2 separate regions of the Homo sapiens genome follow, and region 2 is linked to region 1. The links are contacts of gene promoters, found by promoter capture Hi-C in human tissues and cell types (Jung and others, 2019). All regions are on one chromosome and are shown on one strand. Each heading gives the region's core, a stretch centred on a gene start or on the middle of the fragment in contact. The rest is flanking DNA. Distances are from core to core; before and after follow the strand shown. Region 1 holds the start of CLDN23 (claudin 23). Region 2 overlaps TNKS (tankyrase).

Region 1 (4,620 bases), core at 703-3,202:
CAGCTACTAGGTAGGCTGAGGCAGGAGAACTGCTTGCTTGAACCCAGGAACCAGAGGTTGCAGTGGGCCGAGATTTTGCCGTCACACTCTAGGCTGGGCAGCAGAGCAAGACTCCATCTCAAAAAAAATTTTTTTAATTAAAAAAAATTAAAAGTGATGTATATATCACTATTACATAAATGATGCAACAGCATTATTCACAATAGCCAAAAGGTAAAAGCAATCTAAGTGTCTATGGATGGAAGACTGGATAAACAAAATGTGGTATTTATGCACAATAGAATATCATTCAACCTTCAAAAGGAAGGACATTCTGACACATGCTACAATATGGATGAACCTGGAGGACATTAAGCTCAGTGAAATAAGCCAGTCACGAAAGGACAAATACGGTCCGATTCCAGTTCTATGAGGTACCTAAAGTAGTTAAATTTATAGAGAGAAAAAAGTAGAATGGTGATCACCAGGGCCTGTGAGGGAGGGAGGAAAGGAGAGTTAGTGTTTAGTGGGTACAGTGTCAGTTTGGGAAGAGGAAAAAATCCCAGGAGTGGATGGTGGTGAGGGTATCACAACAATGTGAATGTATGTCATACCAATGAGCTGTACACTTAAAGATGGTTACAACGGTCAACTGTATGTTACATATATGTTACCACAGGTTTTTTTTTTAATTTAAAAATATTCTTTTAAAAAAAGCAGTCACTGTCATTCCTAGTGTTGTCCACTCTGGAATATTCAAAATTATTTCAAACCAATGCTAAATTAACTTGAATTTTAAAAATAGTTTTAATTTTAAACAATTATAAAGGCAATACGTTTTCATTGTAAAAATCTAGAAAATACAAAAAAGTGTTATTAAAGGATAATTTTTAGAAAAAATGTAAACATCGTGACTTTCACACAAATATAAAATGAATATGTGTGAAAGAGGTTATTTAACTCATTATTGAATAAGGAAACCAGTATGATGTTAAAACCAAAGAAGCTGGCCACTTGCCTGCAGTCCTAGCTACTCCAGAGGCTGAGGCGGGAGACTCACCTGAGCCCAGGAGTTTGCAACCAGCCTGGGCAACACAGCGAAACTCCCCAACCCTGTTTAAAATAAATAAATAAATAAATAAATAAATAAATAAATAAAAGAAAAAGGAAAAAAAAAAAGCAAAGAACAAAAGGACACACATATACAGACAAACAGGAATGCTAAAATGAATTTACAAATCAATGCCATACTGGTCAGTATCCATTGGACAATAATCATTCCACTGGGACGAACTCATTAGCCTTGATGTTGGCAAAAGTCATTTGCAATACTACAGGCTTTCTATAATTTATAGAGTTGTAAAATAACCTACAGACGAGAAAGGCCACAGTACACTGTAAAATTAAATAAACCTGCAAAAAACGCTAAGCAGGACATCCGGGAACACTGGTCCCTCTTTCTAGTCCCCTTGAAAGTCTCACAAGGCTGAAAAAGGAAAGTAAAATCCTTGTGTAACCCTTCTGCCCAGAAGTACACTGGCACAGATTCTTTAGAGACGAATTTAATCCAGAGTGTGGAGCCTTTATTAAGGAAATAATCCGGTGCAACGTTCTGGGACACGCTCCTGGACTGGGTGGGCTTCTGCACACTCACCCAGCGCACCTCCAATCCCCGGGAGCGCTCGGCACCGCCCACTTCTCTGCGAGTGGCTGCAAGTTGCAGAGCAAACCAGGGGGCGATCTGGAACCCTCTGGGAGTAAAGGGCTAAGCTATAAGCGCAGGGTCGACGGGCAGGGACCGGAAACAAATTCTAGGAACCGAGATCCGCTGAGCAGCAGGGAAGCTGCGCAGCCACCGCGTCCCGCCAGCGCCGCCTCTTTCCCTCCCCGCCCACCGCCCGCCTGGCCCGGCGGGGCGGCGCGAGGACCCAGGGGCGGGGCGACCTTTGCTCCGGCCGTGAGCAGTCCAGGCCAGGCGTGGCCCAGCCGCCCGGCTGCAAGGTGGGGTGTCCCCGCCGCTCGGATCCCCATCTCACCTGCCGCGGGCGAGGTGGCCCCGCCGCTTCCTGCGCTCACCTCGGGTCCCTCCCTCCCGGGCCAGGTTTGGCCGCGGCAGCCGCCCCTGGGCGCCCGCGCCCGGACCCGCGGTTTCGGTCAGACCCGCCCGCGGGCTGGTTTCGATTAGGGCCAGTAGGAGGGCGGAGCGGCCGGGACGCCAGGAGGGAACTAGCCTAAGTGGGGACGGTCCCCGTGCAGGAGACAAAGAGCGTCCCTGGAGCGATCAGGGCTCAGGAGCCCGACCCGGAGCCCGGGGCGTCCGCGCTGACTTCGGGTCCCCGGAGCCTGGGGCACGGCAGGGAGAAGACGACGGCGGAGAAGGCGACAGCGGAGAAGGAAGGCAGGCTGCAGGGGCGCCGTCGGCGCGGCGGGCCGGGATGCGGACGCCGGTGGTGATGACGCTGGGCATGGTGTTGGCGCCCTGCGGGCTCCTGCTCAACCTGACCGGCACCCTGGCGCCCGGCTGGCGGCTGGTGAAGGGCTTCCTGAACCAGCCAGTGGACGTGGAGTTGTACCAGGGCCTGTGGGACATGTGTCGCGAGCAGAGCAGCCGCGAGCGCGAGTGCGGCCAGACGGACCAGTGGGGCTACTTCGAGGCCCAGCCCGTGCTGGTGGCGCGGGCACTCATGGTCACCTCGCTGGCCGCCACGGTCCTGGGGCTTCTGCTGGCGTCGCTGGGCGTGCGCTGCTGGCAGGACGAGCCCAACTTCGTGCTGGCAGGGCTCTCGGGCGTCGTGCTCTTCGTCGCTGGCCTCCTCGGCCTCATCCCGGTGTCCTGGTACAACCACTTCTTGGGGGACCGCGACGTGCTGCCCGCCCCGGCCAGCCCGGTCACGGTGCAGGTCAGCTACAGCCTGGTCCTGGGCTACCTGGGCAGCTGCCTCCTGCTGCTGGGCGGCTTCTCGCTGGCGCTCAGCTTCGCGCCCTGGTGCGACGAGCGTTGTCGCCGCCGCCGCAAGGGACCCTCCGCCGGGCCTCGCCGCAGCAGCGTCAGCACCATCCAAGTGGAGTGGCCCGAGCCCGACCTGGCGCCCGCCATCAAGTACTACAGCGACGGCCAGCACCGACCGCCGCCTGCCCAGCACCGCAAGCCCAAGCCCAAGCCCAAGGTCGGCTTCCCCATGCCGCGGCCGCGGCCCAAGGCCTACACCAACTCGGTGGACGTCCTCGACGGGGAGGGGTGGGAGTCCCAGGACGCTCCCTCGTGCAGCACCCACCCCTGCGACAGCTCGCTGCCCTGCGACTCCGACCTCTAGACGCTTGTAGAGCCTGGGGGGCGCCGGGTGGCAAAGGACTCACCCCCGCACAGGCCCGCCTGGCTTCGAGTTGGAACCCGGACACTTGCCCCTCACTGGTGTGGATGGAAATCTGCCTTTCGTGGGACCAAACAGGACTCCTTGGACGATTAGTTCAGGTTGGGTTTGGTTTTCTTCTTAAAGAGTTTAGTTTTCCTCTCCAGAGGGATCAGGGTCCTCTTAGGGAGTGACGGGCTTTTCATATATTTTTGCTGAAGAATATATGGAAAGGGTGGCATTTGCGTCACGTGGACCAGGGACAGTGCTGAAATCAGCAGTGCTCAGAAACAATTTAACATGTTGAAACGACAATATTCTAAAATACTGATGAATCTTGCATCAATATAATTATTGGGTTTTTTTTCTTTTTCCTGCTGTATAACTCCTTGCCATGCAAACTCTCAAGAGGCCAATATATTCCTGGCCATGTTTGAATGAGCCTCTTAAAATAAACTTAGAGCCATGCAAATGCCAGCAGCTTAATGGATTTCATGGAATGAAATACCGTGATTAACTCATAGCTACATATCATTGCATAAATGGGATTTATCTTTTTTCTCACTTATTTTTGCGGTGAAAGTCGAGGGCATGCAAGAGTTTCTCTTCCAGAAGCCAAGAGGAGAACAAAGGTCCTAATGCTGTACTATTCCACCCTTTGGACGCCTCATCCAGGACGCAGAGGACTCTAGGTTTAACATTTTGTACAAAATGGAACCTGTTAATCATATTAAAGCACATATGTATATATCTTTTATTTATAAATAAAATTTTAAAACAATAGTTTCAGTATAGCCACAAAAGCTCTTTTGTCTTCAGTACAACGTTTGGGAGTTTAAACATTCATTACTAACAATTTCCTGGCTGCCTCGGCACTTGTGTCTGAAATCTAGCACTCAAATCTTTGCACCTCTTAGCATAAGGTTACTAAAAAAAGCCAACGGGCCCCACTTAAGTCCCTGATTGCTTTGGTTTTAGGTTCATGCCATTTCTGTGCAAAGCCAAGTCTATTGCTGAGAAAACGAGAAGCACCAGTTTCCACTTGAGGTGAGACTGGAAATCTTTTCCTTTGTAGCAGTGGTGTTTAGAATCACAGGAAGGCAGCTATGTGTTCCATGAAGGGGACTGGGTCTCCAGCAGGGCTGGCTTCAATTCCAAGTGGTTGATTTAAGGGTACCTTTAACCGAACTGAATCTCTTCTTTAAAACCTGCCGTTCAGAGGTAGGAACATTCATTCAGTTCAGCAAGCACTGATAATAGCTATAGTGAGGCTAACTTAATAGCACATGCT
Region 2 (4,075 bases), core at 86-2,585, 1.0 Mb after region 1:
TGTTTCTCCTGGAAACATTCCAACAGAGATCAGTTTCTTTTCTGGACCTTCTAGTTCAATACTTTGCTCTTATATACTGTGTTGAATAGAACTGAACTGCTATTTATTGGATTTGTCAGCCTTAAATTCCAGTTACTATTTTTGCCTCAATGGTGTAGCTATTTAAAAGAATTAAACAGCTTAAGAACTGTATTTTTAGTCTATTTGGGTAGTAATATACTCCTTCCTGTTCATTGTTCTTTCAGACATTTGTCAGAAAATTTCACAAGCATGTAGTTGGTTTGTCCAAGCATAAACTATAACTTCAATATAAAGAAAGCTTAATAATACATACCAGATATACAATTCATTTTATACACACATACAGAAACAGGTAATTTTCCTTGGACTTTTTGTAATTTTGGAAGCCTGTGTAAATTAGTCTACCAGATTATATTATTCGGCCTGTAAACATGGGAGTTCAATAAAATTAATCATCAGAAACACAGTTTAAGTAGCTTGTAACCTCACTGGGGAGAAGCTTGAAATTATTCCGTGCTTTTGGGTTAACTTAACAAAAATTGCTGCCTTTTTTCAACATATAGCCTTTGAATAAGGGAGATAAATTACTAGGTTTGGTTTTGTTTTAGGTGATTTTGATAATACCACGAGTGGTACCTCTGTTTTCATCTTTTGTGTTAGAAAATTTAAAAATAATTAAGCTATAGAATTAATTTTATAGTGATATTATAATCCCAGAAGAATCACAAAACATCCTGTTCTGAGAAGACTTAGTCTGATTATGCTGCTTATTTATTTTATTTTTTGTTTATGGGGTTTTTTGTTTTGTTTTGTTTTGAGATGGAATCTCACTCTTCACCCAGGCTGGAAAGCAGTGGTGCAATCTTGACTCACTGCAATCTCCGTCTCCCAGATTCAAGCGATTCTCCTGCCTCAGCCTCCCAAGTAGCTGGGATTACAGGTGTGTGGCGCCACACCCAGCTAATTTTTGTGTATTTAGCAGAGATGGGGTTTCGCCATGTTGGCCAGGATGGTCTCAAACTCCTGACCTCAAATGATCTGCTGGCCTCGGCCTCCCAAAGTGGTGGGATTACAGGCCTGAACCACCACACCTGGCCTATTTTTTGTTTTTGGGGGCGTTTTTTGCTTTGTATTATTAGAGCAAATGTGGAAGCTTTCCTTAGTAGTTGGCTGATCTGTACTTTTGTTTTTAGATAAATGTTCTTCACTTTGTTTTCAGAAACTACTATTTCTAAAATTAGGAAATACAGATATTTATATTACATAAAGTTAAATACTACCTCAGAAAAAGTGCCTGTTCTTTTTGAAGTGAGTGTCTTCAAGAGTGCAGGGAAGACGATATCTTAAGGAAGATAGAAAGTGACATGCATTAAGTTGCATCTTGGGATCTTTCTTGGCCTTCCCTGTCTTTTCCCATTCTCATAAATGTCTTCCTTAAAAGCCTCAATGTGTGGTAGTCGAGCAGCAGCATGAGTTAGAAATTTATTTTCAATAGATGATGTGCTTTTGAGTTAATTATCCAAACTGACCAAGTTATGCCCAGAAATGTGTCTGTAAGGGACACAAATGTGCCAGTTGCACCAAATTATAGCATACTGGAGTTGAAATGGATCTCAGAAATACTTAAGTGCTAACCAGCCTAACATCCTAAATGTATTTATAAAAATATACAAGTTATTTTTAATATTCTTAAAAAGCCTATTTGTTGAATCAGTAGTGCCTATTGTGTGATCGATTGTCTTAGCTTATTTTATAAGGATTTTTGGGAAGAAGCTGAAGCCTTTTGCTATGTGGAGCTCTTGCTTGAGTGAACCTGGTCTCCATGGAACTTGCTTCTGTATTGGCTTTTATAGTCCTGCTCCTTTATAGTTCTTCTCCAGCTTCCATTTTTCCTTTTGTCTCCTCTGAGGATTTTTCTTCCACTCTCCTTTTCCAAAATATTGTTGTTTTCAAGGTTTTATCCACCTTGTAATTATCTTTCTGTATTCCTTTCCTTAATGAGCTCATTTATCAAGTAGCTACAACTATTAATCCCCTATTCCATTTCGTAATCTCCCTGGAGCCCCCAGCCCCAGTCCTCAGCCCTCCATAGGTATTGAGCAAATGCTGGTTGGTAGGTGAGTGGTGGGAGAGTGAGTAAGTGAATGATGCCCCCTCGACTGTGCTCCAACCTTTTCTGACAAACGATCTGCACAATGTCTTTACTTTGATGTTTTACCTCAGAAGGTGCCTACCTCAGTGAGCCTTATCTGAGAGTTTCATACCTACTTAAACTTTTTTTTTTTTTTTTTTTGAGACGGAGCCTTGCTCTGGTAACCAGGCTGCGGTGCGGTGGTGCAATCTCAGCTGACTGCAACCTCCGCCTTTTGGGTTCAAGTGATTCTCTTGCCTCAGCCTCCCGAGTAGCTTGGATTACAGGCATGCACCACCATGCCCAGCTAATTTTTGTATTTTTGGTAGGGACGGGGTTTCACTATGTTGGCCAGGCTGGTCTCGAACTCCTGACCTCAGGTGATCCGCCCACCTCAGCCTCCCAAAGTGCTGGGATTACAGGCGTGAGCCACCGCACCCAGCCCCTACTTAAACTTTTACAACTCAATTTCTTTTAATAGTTCTACCTTATTTTCTAATCTTCCAGATTCCCCCCTCCTTCCCCCCCTCAAAAAAATGTAGTCATCTTTGACTTTTCTCTCTCTCTCTTCTGTTGTGAATTTGGCTTTTAAACACAATTTTTTTTCTTTCAAAATTTCTCAGATTTAGCCCTTCTTTTCCATTTTTCTGTAACTGTCAATGGTTCAGGGTCTCATCACCTCATGCCCAGGTTATTAGCATGTCTGCTGCTAACATTTCCTCCACCCGGCAATCATTTAGACATAACAGACCAATTTTCATAAAATGTTATGTTGCTTTTTCAAAGGCTAAAGAGAAAACATTGAGAATCTTTGAGATGAGTATTTCAGTAAATCTGATTGCAGTAGGTAGAAAAGAAATGGGAAGATAAGAGAATCAATGTGAATAGAATGCATATTTGAAAAGTTTGGCAGATAGATTAGACCATTAACAGAAGATTTGAATTAGGTACTAGTTTCACTTTACAGAATGAAACACCTTACAAAGTATTTGTTTTTAAAATAAAGTTGAATATATTAGAGGGATGCATTTTTTGAAAAAAAGCCCATGAACAGTTACAGGGTAATAGTATAATTGTGTAATTGAGATTTTGAAGGAGGCAAGAAAAGATGGAGTCCAAAGTGTAAGTAGAAGACTGAAATACTCTTTTTTTTAGAAGAAACTTCTGTTAAGGATGAAAATGGAGATACAGAGGAGTGAATTGTTAAATAAAAACAGGTATACACAATGGTGCTTTACCAGATGATCTCATTCTTAACTCTTTGTATCCTTTTCTTTTTTTTCAGCATGTTGACATAGCGGCTTTATTGATAAAATACAACACGTGTGTAAATGCAACAGATAAGTGGGCGTTTACTCCCCTCCATGAAGCAGCCCAGAAAGGAAGGACGCAGCTGTGCGCCCTCCTCCTAGCGCATGGTGCAGACCCCACCATGAAGAACCAGGAAGGCCAGACGCCTCTGGATCTGGCAACAGTAAGTCCTCATTTCAGATACTGATTATTGTTCCTTCTACTTTCACAGATGACATCAGATTCTCGGGTTCACCAGCTTACTTTTAGTCGTGTTTATTTCACTTAGAACAGAGATCTTCTGAAAATTTTTGAAGTTCACACTTTTTCTATGAAAATATAATTTAAAACTCTTAAGACAAACTAAACAGTAAGTTAATTTAATTTTTTGCCATTCTTAGCCTGCTGGGAAAACATGGATCTTAAGAAAACATGTTTTTAGAGTGTACCCTCAAAGAATTATATTTAGTAAAATATCTTGTACCTTCTATATTTGGCATGTTATTGTAGAGCAACTAATGTTCATGATAATTTACCTAAGTCTGTGAGATAGTCAAAGAAAAATTAACTCTGGGCAGTATTATTTAACTGCAAAGTTAAGCACTGCATCATCTTCCGTGAACTTTCTGAAAA

Evidence for each region. The method cuts DNA at HindIII sites, captures the fragments that hold promoters and counts their contacts. A contact is called where the count stands out against the background at its distance.
Region 2: a fragment that was not itself captured here is called in contact with the fragment with the promoter of CLDN23 in region 1 in 1 of the 25 tissues and cell types used here (lymphoblastoid cells).

What each region holds. Positions count from the first base shown.
Region 1 is chr8:8,699,985-8,704,604 of GRCh38, forward strand. CLDN23 (claudin 23) reads left to right here and starts at 1,953. Exons shown (of 1, transcript NM_194284.3): 1 at 1,953-4,112. The coding sequence starts at 2,415. The coding sequence ends at 3,293. RefSeq lists a silencer at 1,686-2,305 and an enhancer at 1,779-2,746. The HindIII fragment of the contact is 23,279 bases long and covers 1-4,620 here.
Region 2 is chr8:9,744,587-9,748,661 of GRCh38, forward strand. TNKS (tankyrase) reads left to right here. Exons shown (of 27, transcript NM_003747.3): 18 at 3,438-3,626. Among named protein-coding and RNA genes, the nearest start is that of MIR597, 5.0 kb to the left of the region's middle. The HindIII fragment of the contact is 6,105 bases long and covers 1-4,075 here.